4 separate regions of the Homo sapiens genome follow, and regions 1, 2 and 3 are each linked to region 4. Evidence: promoter capture Hi-C in 16 types of primary human blood cells and fetal thymus (Javierre and others, 2016). All regions are on one chromosome and are shown on one strand. Each heading gives the region's core, a stretch centred on a gene start or on the middle of the fragment in contact. The rest is flanking DNA. Distances are from core to core; before and after follow the strand shown.

Region 1 (2,989 bases), core at 467-2,966, 430 kb after region 4:
GGTGGCTCACGCCTGTAATCCCAGCACTCTGGGAGGCCGAGGCGGGCGGATCATGAGGTCAGGAGATCGAGACCATCCTGGCTAACACAGTGAAACCCCATCTCTACTAAAAAATACAAAAAATTAGCCTGGCGTAGTGGCGGGCGCCTGTAGTCCCAGCTACTGGGGAGGCTGAGGCAGGAGAATGGCATGAACCCAGGAGGCGGAGCTTGCAGTGAGCCGAGATCACGCCACTGCACTCCAGCACTCCAGCCTGGACAACAGAGTGAGACTCCGTCTCAAAAAAAAAAAAAAAAAAAAGAAAAGAAAAAAAAGGTCTCCTCCAGAAATATTGATGGGAAGCTTTAGCCCTCATGTTGAATAGGTAAACCTCAACTTGTCCCGTCTGCCAGAAACAGAATTCTGATAAAAATACAAAGTGGGGCAAAGACAATGAGCCAACTCTGTTGTATTGACTAGTGAGTTTTGTATTTCTGTGTTTATGCCTGAATCGTGGCTAAAATTTTAGAATGAAACCTGTAAGATCTTTATTTGCATCTGCCTGTATGTTTATGTATTTATTTTATGCATATGTGATATTTTTCTACCTCTGGATGATACTATCAAATTAATTTATAAAATTCCTTAAAAACCCTAAAACTGTCAGAAAAAAAAAATCTGAACTTCTAATACTTCCAGTGTGGGGGAAAAAGTATTCTCTAAAACCTAACATAAATGTTTTAAAAATTCAATTTACTGCCGGGCGTGGTGGCTCACACCTGTAATCCCAGCACTTTGGGAGGCTAAGGCGGGTGGATCACCTGAGGTCAGGAGTTCAAGACCAGCCTGGTCAACGTGGTGAAACTCCATCTTTACTAAAAATACAAAATTAGCCGGGCGTGGTGGTGCATGCCTATAATCCCAGCTACTCGGGAGGCTGAGGCAGGAGAATCGCTTGAACCCAGGAGGCGGAAGTTGCGGTGAGCCATGAGCACACCACTGCACTCCAGCCTGGGCAACAAGAAGGAAATTCATCTAAAAAAAAAAAATTCAAGTTACCTAATTTAGGTAAATCTTTGGCAAACAAAATTAGCTTAATATTGTTGGCTTAATAAAAATAGCTATGTTTTATGAGTTATTACCATTAAGTATAACAGAAGTATACACTTCTTTCTACTTGGTATGTTCTTCCTAAATGTGTACAGGTTTACTAGTCGAATAAGCCAATATTGTATCAACTAGATTGTGAGATATATATTCATAAGCTTTGCTAGCCTGCTCTATGATAGACAGTTCATAGTTATCTACTTCCTAGTTTTCTCTGCAAAGTAAAAGTCATTAGTGGATAAAATTATAATCAATATATGTAAATGAAACTACTAGAAGCAATGGGGCAAAGATAAACAACTTTGTATGTAAGATATGCTCAGTATGTTTCCTCAACATTTTTCATAATTAAATCTTCAAGCATACAGAAGATACAAAGAATTGTTTGGTAAGTGCCAATATACCCTACACCCAGACTGTTACATGTTGTTAACCTGGCTTTATCTCATCTCTTTTCATCTATCCATGTTTCTATCTGTCCATCAATCCATGTTATTTTTTGGTGCAATTCAAAGTAAGTTGCAGATTTCAGTGCACTTCGCTTCTAGATAATTCAGCGTACATATCATTAACTAGAGTTCAATATTTACAGTTTTAAGTAAAATTGTATACAGTGAAATGTATAAATCTCAAGTGTATCATTCAAAGAATTTTGACAAATGTAAACCCCTATCAAAACATTAAACACGACCATCACCTGAGACAGTTCCCTCATGCCCTTTCCTTATCAATCCCTGCTGCCACCCCCTCCAGAGGCAAGCATTGTCCTGACTTTTCTCACCATAGATTAGTTTAGCCTCTTCTAGAAACTTCACATAAATCGAGCCATGCTGAGCTGGCTTGTGCCATTTCGCTGGGGCCAGCTGTTATCAGCACACCACTGATTGCAACCCAGAATTTTATACCTCAAGGCTGATCCCCTTCTGCTGCCAGACAGGAATGTGTTGTGCTAAAGTCTTCCAGCACAGTTTTACTTGATCCTCATGGGAATCCCACGTAAATGAGCCCTGGCTTCATTTTACAGATGGTGAAGGAGAGTCCCAGAGAGGGTAAAACTTTAGTTCATTGGAGATTGAGTTTTTCCATCAGTTTACTAAGCTTTATTGTTTGTTTGTTTTTGGTTTAGTTTTGTCTTTTACAGATGGGGTCTCACTATGTTGCTCAAGCTGGTCTTGAACTCCTGGTGCCTTGACCTCCCAAAGTGCTGGGATTACAGGCGTAAGCCACTATGTCCAGTTTAGCAAGCTTTAATTTTAATAGTCCGTTAGGTCTGTCTATCATTACAGGAGAGAGAGATGATAAAAATATTCTGTTTTAATATTTGGTCTTTGACCCCAGTTTCTGATACAAAGCTCTTAAGACCGTTGTAATTTCTTGTGTGATAGGAGTGTCTGACACAGAGCTTCTAAATCCCTTGGAATTTCCTGGGTGATAGAAGCATCTTTTGCTCTAATGAGGTGACCTCTTAATGTCCTCCTGGATAGCCTCAGGATGGGAGCTGGTTGCCAGGGGAATCAACCATGTGATTAGAAGGTTGGGACCTCCAGCCCCATCCCTCAACTCTGGGGCTGAAGGTTGAATTGATCATCAATGGCTAATGATGTAATCAATTACATCTAGGTAATGGAGCCTCTATAAAAACCCAAAAGGACAGGGCTTGGGGAGCTTCCAGATAGCTGGAAATGTGTGGGTTCTTGGAGGGTGGTGCTCTGGAGGCGGCATGGGAACTCCACACCCCTTCCCTCATGCCTTGCTCTATGCATCTTCGCTATCTGGCTGTTAATCTTCATCCTTCATTATATCCCTTATTAATAAACCAGTAAACATAAGTAAAGTGTTTGCCTGGGTTCTGTGAGCTGCTCTAGCAAATGAATTGAACCTCAGGGGGGTCGTGGGAATCCTG
Region 2 (3,231 bases), core at 597-3,096, 350 kb before region 4:
ATCCTCCCCAAACTTGTTCTGGTGGGCGATGTTCTTCACATCTAGGAGAGCCTGAGGAGGAGGCAAGAATAGGGCAGGTGAGAGAGAGTGAGGACCCCTCTACCTCGGCTGCAGGGCTGCCCCCACTCCAGCCCTCAACCACTCTGTCTTCTGGACTATCCCACAGCCCCCGCCCCATGCAAAATAATCACATGAGGCAGCCATGCAGAGGGGCCTGTGGTCTCCCTTTACCCAATCACAGAAGGGGTGTGTGTGTGGGGGGTGAGTGTGCACGTGTCGAAGGGTCTACCCAGGGCCCACCTGGTGGTGGACATAGGCCTGACAGTAGTAACACCAGGCTGACAGGTCGATGTAGCTGAGGACCAGCGGGTGTCCAGAATTTCCATGGTGTTGGAGCATGTGGCCATTGATGTAACGACCACAGTAGACCTGAGGTTGGGGGTGTGAGTGTCAGGTGGGGGTCAGCATCCCCCTGCAGTTTGCTCCCGGGCCAACCTCCGCCCCATCCCCTTCCTCTGCTCCATACCTGATAGCAAGAGAGACACACCCAATTCTCTTGGATTGTTCCACAGTCCCCACAAGGTTGGGTCACGTCTAGGCCTGCTGCAGGTATGGGGCATACTGCCACCAAATGGGGACACCAGGGCAGTGGTGTCACAGCATAAAATATGGCCTGGAGTGGGTGGGTGAAACTAGGTAAGCTGAAGACCCCATCTCCCCATTATATGTTTATTCATCACATGCTCCTACCTGGAGACACAAATTGGCAAGAGAAGGAAGCCACAGTCCCAGCCTCTCCCTGAGCTCACCTGATCAGTGAGGCCCCTAGATCCCTGCATCAGCATCGAATCAGCCATGTCCTGACCTCCAGCTGCCTCTCCTAGTAGGTTCTCCTCTCCTGGGGCCTGAGATTCTGAGGCCCCCTGGACACGCAGAAGTAAGAGATGTATCAGAGAAGCCCGATTCTTGCCCCTTCTTGCCCCTACCTGGGTGTGGTGAGCCTTACCTGAGATTCGCTGCCTAGCTCCAAGGTCCTGAGACTCCCAATCAGTGTACTGGGAGATATCTGGGGTGTAGTTCCCTGCACAGGTGAGGTTGGGGGGGTCTGGTGGTCTGTGCTCGAGGCTAGAGGAGTTTGGATCAGCTCGGTGCCCCCTGGAGCCTCCTCTGACGTAGTCTGGTCCAGTGTGGCTCCCTCCATGGCTGCCTCCGAGGTGGTCTGGGCCAGTGTAGCTCCTCCTACAGCCTCCTCTGAGGTAGTCTGGCCCAGCGTGGCTCCCCCAACAGCATCCTCTGAGGTGGTCTGGTCCAGAATGGCTCCTCCCACAGTCTCCTCTGAGGTGGTCTGGTCCGGAGTGGCTCCCCCGACAGCCTCCTCTGAGGTGGTCTGGCCCAGCATGGCTCCCCCAATGGCTGCCTCAGAAATGGTCTGGGCCAGAGTGGCTCCCCCTGTGGCTGCCTCTGAGGGCTGGTCCTGAGTGAGGGCCACCACAGCTGTCTCTGAGTTAGTCTGGCCTGGAGTGGACTCTTCCCCAAATGATGCCGAGGTGACTTTCCCCATGCCTGCTTCCAGAACCTTCTTTTCTCGTGTGGTCATCCGCTCAGCTAACCTAGGTTTGGCTGGTTGGGGTGCCTTCTTGGTGACCAACTTAGAACTGGAGGGTCCTTCTCTGTCTTCTACCTCTGGAACCAGGGAGGGAGATCCTTGAGTGTGGGTACTGTCACCCTTCCTGCCTCTGATCTCTGCCCCTCAGCCCCCTCCTTCCCTGGGTTCCCCCCATCACCCCCAAATCCACTCACTCATGACCCGTAAGCTGCGCCAGTATCTGCGATGGACTTGGATGGTCTCAGTGATTGAGGCCAGGGCCCCTGATAGTGGGGGCCGTGGCAGGGTCAGCAGGGGTGGTGGGTCTCCAAGGAGGGAGCGAGTGCAGGCAGCCATGGACTCTGAGATGGATGTCAGGTTATAGCCACCCTTTGTTAAGGAAAAGGGGAGGGAAAGGTATGGTGGGGGTTCATTGGGGAATTTGGAGGACAACATGTCCTGCCTCCCCAATCCTCCCTACTGAGCCCTGCAAGTCTGGAGAGGGAGGGGGAGTACTGAGAACAAGTGAACAGAACCCACACCTTTAAGATAGGCAGCACCCACTGTGTAAGGTGGTTGTTGTGGGGAGTAAATTGTGATGTAAAGTGCAAGATAACAATACTGATAAAAGCATTAGTAACAGCTGACATTTATTGTTTGCTGTGTGCCAGACCCGATTTTAAGTACTTCATGCATATTAACTCAATCCTCACAACCACAGGCGCTCAATCTATACAGGAACTTGCCTTCATGCCATACAGAAATCCGTCTTCACACTGTCCAGGAACCCCTGGCCTCACATCATACAGTAACCACTGACCTGACCTGCACAAGACGACTGCTGTGAACCCATACAAAAGCCCCTGCCCTGACCTAGTACAGGAACAACTGGACTCTTTCTCCACATGGACTCCTGTATTGACTTTTTTTACACTCTACAGGAATCCCAGTTGCTATTCTTTTTACAGATAAAGAAACTGAGGCTCAGAGTGGTTAGATGACTTGTCCGAGGTCATAACAGCTGAAGAGGCAGCACTGGGGTTTGAACTTGGGCTCTCTGATGGAGTCATCTGTGTTCTTAACTCCCACCGTGTCCTGTCACAAGCAGTACTGGGCACATAGTAAGTGCGACTTTTTGCAAGCCAATTAATTTCTCAGTGACTTATTTTCCTCATCTGTAAAGTGGTGAAAATAACAGCACAGGCTGGGCGCGGTGGCTCACCCCTATAATCCCAGCACTTTGGGAGGCCGAGGCGGGAAGGTTACCTGAGGTCAGGAGTTTGAGGCCAGCCTGGCCAACATGGTGAAACCCCCGTCTCTACTAAAAATACAAAAATTAGCCAGGCGTGGTGGCATGCGCCTGTAGTCCCAGCTACTCGGGAGGCTGAGGCATGAGAATTGCTTGCTCGAGCCTGGGAGATAGAGGCTGCAGTGAGCCGAGATAGCGCCATTGCACTCCAGCCTGGGTGACACGGCGAGACTCTGTCTCAAAAGGAAAAAAAAAAAAAAAAAAAAAAAGAGGCAGGTATGGTAGCTCATGCCTGTAATCCCAACACTTTGGGAGGCTGAGGCAGGTGGATCACGAGGTCAGGAGTTCAACACCAGCCTGGCCAACATGGTGAAACCCCGTCTCTACTAAAAATACA
Region 3 (3,205 bases), core at 227-2,726, 410 kb after region 4:
TCCCAGGCTCAGGTAATCCTCTCACCTCAGCCTCCCTAGTAGCTGGGACTATAGGTGTGTGCCACCACACCCGGCTAATTTTTTGTAGAGACAGGGTTTTGCCATGTTGCCCAGGCTGGTTGTTTGTTTGTTTTTGAGACAGAGTCTCAGTCTGTCGCCCAGGCTTGAGTGCAGTGGCACAGTCTCGGCTCACTGCATCCTCCGCCTCCTGGGTTCAAGCAAGTCTCCTGCCTCAGCCGCCTGAGTAGCTGGGACTACAGGCATGCACCACCATGCTCGGCTAATTTTTGTATTTTTAGTAGAGACGGGGTTTCGCCATGTTGGCCAGGCTGGTCTTGAATTCCTGACCTCAAGTGATCCACCTGCCCCTGCCTCCCCAAGGGCTGGGATTACAGGCGTGAGCCACCACATCTGGCCCCTTCTTTGTTGCTTTTTATAATTGCATATAGTATTCCCTTATGGAGATTGTAGCATTATTTATTCATCCAATCTCCCATGAGGTGGTTTCCATTCTTTTGCTATTATAAATAGTACTGTAGAGCAGTGTCTTCACACATGTCATTTGCTCACATAAGTGAATGTTTATGTAGAATAACTTCTAGAAACCAAATTGCGAGTCAGAGGATGTATACATTATAAATTTGGATAGATATTGCCAAATTAATTGCCTTCAAAATATACCATACACCACAGACAATTTGAGTATGCCTGCTTCTTGACATCTTCACTAACTTACCCTAAGTCACTGTGACTTATCCCTAGTCATAGCATTTGACCAGTGACTTATCAAACACCCATCTTTGATAATATGTAAGGGAAAAATGCTGTCTTGTCTTAGTTTGCATTTATCTTCATGTGAGTGAAGTTGAGCATCTTTTTACATGTTTAAAAAACATTTGCATTTTATTTTCTGTGAAATGATGGTCATGTCCCTTGACCATCGTATTAGTCTGTTCTCATGTCACTATAAAGAAATACCCAAGACTGGGTAATTTATAAAGGAGAGAGGTTTAATTGACTCACAGTTCCACGGGGGTGGGGAAGCCTCAGGAAACTTACAATCATGGTGGAAGGGGAAGCAAGGACCTTCTTCACATGGTGGCAGGAGAGAGAAGTGCCAGCAAGGGAAATGCCAGACGCTTATAATACCATTAGATCTTGTGAGAACTCACTCACTATTATGAGAACAGCATGGGGGAAACTGCCTCCATGATTCAATCACCTCCTTCACTTGACAAGTGGGGATTGCAATTCAAAATGAGATTTGGGTGGGGAAACAGAGTCAAACCATATCAACCATTTTTTAAAAAGTTATTGGTCTTTTTCTTCTTGCTTTGTAGGAGCTCTCTCTATACATGGAGGAAATTAACTCTTTGTCCATCCTATCTGTTATGTGTATATTTTTTCCCTAGTTAGTCATATCCTTTGAGTTTGTTTGATATATTTTGCCATGTAATACATAAAGTAGTCACATTTATCAGTGTTTTCATTTGTGGCATCTGGGTTTTGGGGCATGCTTAGAAGAGTCTTCTCCACTCAAAGATTATTTTTTAAAACCTCTCCTGTCTTTATTTTATAGTTTCTCTTTTTTCATTTAAATTTTTGTCATGAATTTATTTTTGTATATAGTGTGAGGTAGGGAATCCAGTTAATTTTTTTCTGATAGCTCTCCAGTTTTGAATAGTCTGTTTTTCCATTCCTGTTTAAAATGCTACCTTTATTATATATTAAATTTCCCATTTTTATTTGTATCTATTTCTAGACTGTCTGTTCTGTTCCACTAACTATTCTTGCTAATGGCAGGGTTTTACATTGTTTCTCTCATAAAGTATGCTGGGCAAAGTGCAAAGTAGGCATCCTACATGTACTGCTATGGTAAAAATGACCAGAACGAGCAGATTGTACAGGAATGTGCTGTTATAGGAACCAGTGACATTTGAGGATGTGGCTGTGGACTTCACGCAGGAAGAGTGGCAGCAGTTGAATCCTGCTCAGAAGACCCTGCATAGGGATGTGATGCTGGAGACCTATAATCACCTGGTCTCCGTGGGTAAGGGCAGATTCCCTGTGTACCAATGAATCAAATCCTCCTCATCCTTCCTTTAGTGCTGTCAATACCATGACCTTTATGATATTCCTTTAATAGAGTGTGTTCTTTTATAGTTTTGGTTTTTCATGTTTATACTTTTGTTATATCTAGAATTTATTTTTATGTTATGGTGTGAGTTAAGGATCCAACTTTGCTGGGAGGCCCCTGCAAGTGCTTCTCTTCATGAATTTCTGAGCTGCCAAGGCCAAAGCCACTACAATTTTCTCTTAACAGGGTGTTCAGGTATAAAACCAGATGTAATCTTTAAGTTGGAACATGGAAAGGACCCATGGATCATAGAGAGTGAGTTGTCAAGGTGGATCTACCCAGGTAAGTGAGAATTGGGTACATGGTCAAGCGGGCATCTTCTTCTTCCTTGACATCTCTGACATCCGTTACCTTTTTTCTTCCTTAAAATTTATCAGGCCTCCTTTATAACATTCATTCTACAACAGCCACCTTCCTAGTACCTCTGTTCATTGCCAACTGTTTTGTGTGTGTGTGTGTGTGTGTGTGTGTGTGTGTGTGTGTGTGTGTGTGTGTGTATTTGATTTTCCCTCTTTCTTCTTCCTTCAGACAGAGTGAAAGGCCTTGAATCTTCCCAGCAGATCATTTCTGGAGAACTTTTATTTCAAAGGGAGATACTAGAAAGAGCCCCAAAGGATAATTCATTGTACTCTGTTTTAAAAATCTGGCATATTGATAATCAGATGGATAGATATCAAGGAAATCAAGACAGAGTTTTGAGGCAGGTCACAGTCATCAGTCGTGAAACATTGACTGATGAGATGGGTTCCAAGTACAGTGCATTTGGGAAAATGTTCAATCGGTGCACAGACCTTGCTCCTTTAAGTCAAAAATTCCATAAGTTTGATTCATGTGAAAATAGCTTGAAGTCTAATTCAGACTTACTAAATTATAACAGGAGCTATGCAAGAAAGAACCCCACTAAGAGATTTAGATGTGGGAGACCACCTAAGTATAATGCTTCCTGTTCTGTGCCTGAGAAGGAAGGCTTCATTCATACTGGAATGGAGCCCTATGGAGATAGTCAATGTGAAAAAGTTCTCAGTCATAAGCAAGCCCATGTTCAGTATAAGAAATTTCAAGCCAGAG
Region 4 (3,461 bases), core at 962-3,461:
GTATGAGGGGAGAGAGAAATCAGAGTAGATAGGAAAGGAGACAGAGGCTGGAGGAGGTTGGGCAGGAGTGTGTGCGCACGTGTGTGTGAATATGCTGAGTGTATCTCACCTGCCCGTTCTCAGCCACAGCCACACGTATGTGAGCTGTGCCTGCGTCTTCCTATGTAACTTGCCTGGTGCTGCGTTCTGTCTATGGCCGCCTGCCAAACTTGTGCTTTTTTTTTTTTTTTTTTTTGAGATGGAGTCTCACTCTGTCGCTTGGGCCGGAGTGCAGTGGCGCGATCTTGGCTCACTGCAACCTCCGCCTTCCAGGTTCAAGCAATTCTCTTGCCTCAGCCTCCCGAGTAGCTGGGATTACAGGAACCCGCCACCACGCCCAGCTAATTTTTTTTGTATTTTTAGTAGAGACGGGGTTTCGCCACGTTGGCCAGGCTGGTCTCGAACTACTGACCTCATGATTCACTCACCTTGGCCTCCCAAAGTGCTGGGATTACAGGCATGAACCACTGCACCCGGCCCAACTCATACCTTTTTTTTTTTTTTTTTTTTGGCAACCGTGTGCATTGGTACTGTCTGTCGGTGCAGTTCATCTATATGTTGTTGTGTGTGTGTGTTGCTTGGGTGTTTGTCTCCTTTGTAATGGTCGTGGGTGACAAGTGTGTCAGAGTACTTGTCCCTCCTATATGTGTATCTATGCGCACGTATCTTTCTTTGTGTGTCTGCTGCTGTATTTGTGTCTCTTCTTAGCGAGTGGCTGCAGGTATGTGTGCCCTCGGGGTGTTTCTTCTGGTGCCATGGTATGAGTACTATCTGGTTCTCTTGTTTTTTCCTTGTGTAGCTTTCAGTGTGGTTTCTGGATTTTTTCTTTGCAACGATAGTAAGCGTACTCTGCATTCCTGTGCTTTGTGTTTGTGTGCAGGTATATGCTTTCCCTATATGTTTCTTTTCTGACTTGATTTGTGACTAGCTGTGTGTGTACACGGCTGTGTGCAGCCATTTGCTGAAATGCAGTTGTGTGTGTGTGTGTGTGTGAGAGAGAGAGAGAGAGGAGAGAGAGAGAGAAGGAGACTATGGCTTTTCTGTTTGTACAAAAATCATGTCAGCCTATGAGTGCCTCTCTCTGTGACTGGAGCTGTATGTGGTTACATGTGGTCACAAGTGCACATTCAAGTTCACATACACAGAGATATCATTTTAGGGCTTGAACCTGGAAGTTTGCCTCCAGGGTCATCTGAACCTGGATTCAGGTTCAGATCCAGGGCCATCTGAACCTGGATCGTGTGTGTGGGAAAGACCCAGGACCCACACACAATGTCATCAGCTGTGTGTAATTGTGTGCTCTGTGTGTGGCTGTGAATCTGTGTGTGTGATTTGCCTGTTGATTGTCTTTGGCATGGCTGTGGGTCCACGGGCGGTGAGGTTCAGGAGTCTCGAGTGTCTGGAAATCGGCACAAGCCTATCCCTGTGTTAGTCTGTGCTCTCTGTGAGCGGCTCTGAGCCTGTCGGTATTGATAGCTGTAAGACTATCGTCACTCTGTGTGGCCACGTGTGTGACTGTCCCATGAGCCATTGCTCTTAACGTGCAGTGGTGAGTCTGTGTGTGTTCATGTCTGTCAGTCTTTATTCTCTTGTGTGGCTGTGAGTCTTTGTGCACCTCTGTGAGTGATGGCGAGTTGGCCCCCGTATCTGAGCCCCTTGATGGGGCTGTGATGGGTCCTGTTGTGTAGCTGCGATTCCTGAGTGTGCAGGAGTCTCTCTCCCGCTGTGGGGAAGTAAACGCCCCATCCCTTGTCCTCCTCCAACTGTGGGTGGGGTGAGGGCATCTAGGCCAGCTTTGAAGCCCCAGCCAGCTCCTGGCCTTTCCGGGAATTCTGTGTTCCCTGTCGGGGGTGGGCAGGCGGGCGAGGGGCCCAGACAGAGGCCTCTTGTCCACCTGGGCTTCAAGCAGCCCAGTCGAGGTGGTCCCAGACCCCAAGTCCACCCTGCCTGACATCCTGTAGCGGACACGTGGCTTGCCTGGGACAGGCATGCCTGTCATATGCCTGGAGGGGAGTGAACAGACGGACTCCCATAGAAGACAGACGGACAGACAGATAGTGGGACTTCTCAGGGCTTGGACAAGCCCCACCCCACGCTTGGGGTGGGGTCCAGGACTACAGTGCCCGCCCAGTTTGCGGACAGTGTGAGTTCACAGTCCACATTCCCCACCCAGCCACAAATGCCCTCCCTGCCTCCCTCTGGGGGCCCCCAAGATCTAGGGTCCTCTCGTGCCTAGGCTGTCTGCCTGAGGTCTGCCTGGAATAGCCTGGCTACTACCCCTGCACCTGTTCCCCTGCTGTCCCCAGGCCTCTCTGCCTGAATCTGCCTCTCTCTGCCTCTTTTCTCCTGTCCCTCCAGGAGTCTCTCTGCCTCAACCACTCTCTCTGCCCCTTCATCTCTCTGAGCTGGTGTGTCTGGTCCTACCCTCTGTTTGGGGAGCTGTCTGGCTCTGTCCCCCACCTCTTGGCCAGCCTGTGTCTCCTGTCTATGACTGAGCCCAATTGCCTGTTGCCTTTCTGCAGGTGTTTCCACGAGCCTATCCCTACCCACCTGTTTGTTTCTGAGTCTGCCTGTGTGTCCCTTTCTCCCTGTCTCTGCCTGTCTTCCAAGCTCCCCTAGCATCCCCTCCTCCCGCCCATCTGTCTTTCTGTCCCTTCTGTGGTCTGTCTGTTCCTGTGCTGTTTCTCATGCCTGCTTTCTTTGTAACTTCAGTTCTCCTACTCTCTCTCTGTCTCCTCTCTGCACCTTTTTCTGCCATCCATCCCATCCTGCTGTCCGTCTGCTCTGTGAGTCCATCCCCTCTGTCTGCCTGTCACTCTCTCTAGCTGTGGGTCTACACCCTCAATCTTTCAGGCCATTTCCCCCACCATCAACACACAAACAAACCGCTGTCTCCCTCCAAGTGGGTCCAGATAGGGGGCGCCCCTTCTCCACCTCTTCCCCCGCCCAGGGCCAGAAGGAGGGAAACGAAATTAAAATTAACATTTCTTCTCAGGAAAAAAAAAAAAGTACCGCTCCAGAGCAGGAGCCTAGGCAGCCGAGAGGGTGCCCGAACCTGAGTCTGAGTTGCGGCCACTTCAGGAGCTGAGAGGAGCAGGTAGGTGAGGAGGGAGCGTGGGCTGCGGGGATGGTGTTCCTGGGGGCCTGAGATATGAGTAGGGGTCCTGGGAGGGGGCTCGGGGTTCCTTGGAGACATTTTAGCACTAGTGGGGAATGGAATGGCGTGTATGGGGAGGTCCTTTTTGTACCCTGATCCCAGGAAGTGAATTCAGGTGTGGGTGGGAGGCTCCGGAGGGTGCTGGTGGTGGGGGATGGGACTCCTTGAGACCCTCCCTGTCCCAGGAACGGGATTCAGGACTTGGGAAAAGGATTTCCTGAGCCAGTTTGAGCTCTAATGGGGACCTTGAATGGGGGTTTCTGAG

What was found. Contacts are between HindIII fragments. The CHiCAGO score rates a contact against its expected background, and 5 or more counts as called.
Region 1: a fragment that was not itself captured here is called in contact with the fragment with the promoter of SLC38A5 in region 4 in 4 of 17 cell types (naive CD4 T cells, naive B cells, M1 macrophages and 1 more); the score reaches 6.4 in naive CD4 T cells.
Region 2: a fragment that was not itself captured here is called in contact with the fragment with the promoter of SLC38A5 in region 4 in 1 of 17 cell types (neutrophils); the score reaches 5.7 in neutrophils.
Region 3: a contact is called between a fragment that was not itself captured here and the fragment with the promoter of SLC38A5 in region 4, in 1 of 17 cell types (naive CD4 T cells). The highest score is 5.2, in naive CD4 T cells.

The regions. Positions count from the first base shown.
Region 1 is chrX:48,042,235-48,045,223 of GRCh38, reverse strand. No RefSeq gene overlaps it. Among named protein-coding and RNA genes, the nearest start is that of ZNF630-AS1, 13 kb to the left of the region's middle. The HindIII fragment of the contact is 940 bases long and covers 1,247-2,186 here.
Region 2 is chrX:48,821,364-48,824,594 of GRCh38, reverse strand. HDAC6 (histone deacetylase 6) reads right to left here. Exons shown (of 29, transcript NM_006044.4): 24 at 1,801-1,975; 25 at 1,007-1,683; 26 at 810-923; 27 at 527-673; 28 at 301-429; 29 at 1-51. Among named protein-coding and RNA genes, the nearest start is that of ERAS, 3.5 kb to the left of the region's middle. The HindIII fragment of the contact is 4,474 bases long and covers 1-3,231 here.
Region 3 is chrX:48,059,664-48,062,868 of GRCh38, reverse strand. ZNF630 (zinc finger protein 630) reads left to right here. Exons shown (of 5, transcript NM_001282201.2): 3 at 1,924-2,050; 4 at 2,324-2,419; 5 at 2,666-3,205. The region is part of intron 1 of ZNF630-AS1 (ZNF630 antisense RNA 1); the gene reads right to left. Among named protein-coding and RNA genes, the nearest start is that of ZNF630-AS1, 5.0 kb to the right of the region's middle. The HindIII fragment of the contact is 4,033 bases long and covers 1-3,205 here.
Region 4 is chrX:48,469,010-48,472,470 of GRCh38, reverse strand. SLC38A5 (solute carrier family 38 member 5) reads left to right here and starts at 2,211. Exons shown (of 17, transcript NM_033518.4): 1 at 2,211-2,289; 2 at 3,035-3,136. The HindIII fragment of the contact is 10,592 bases long and covers 1-3,461 here.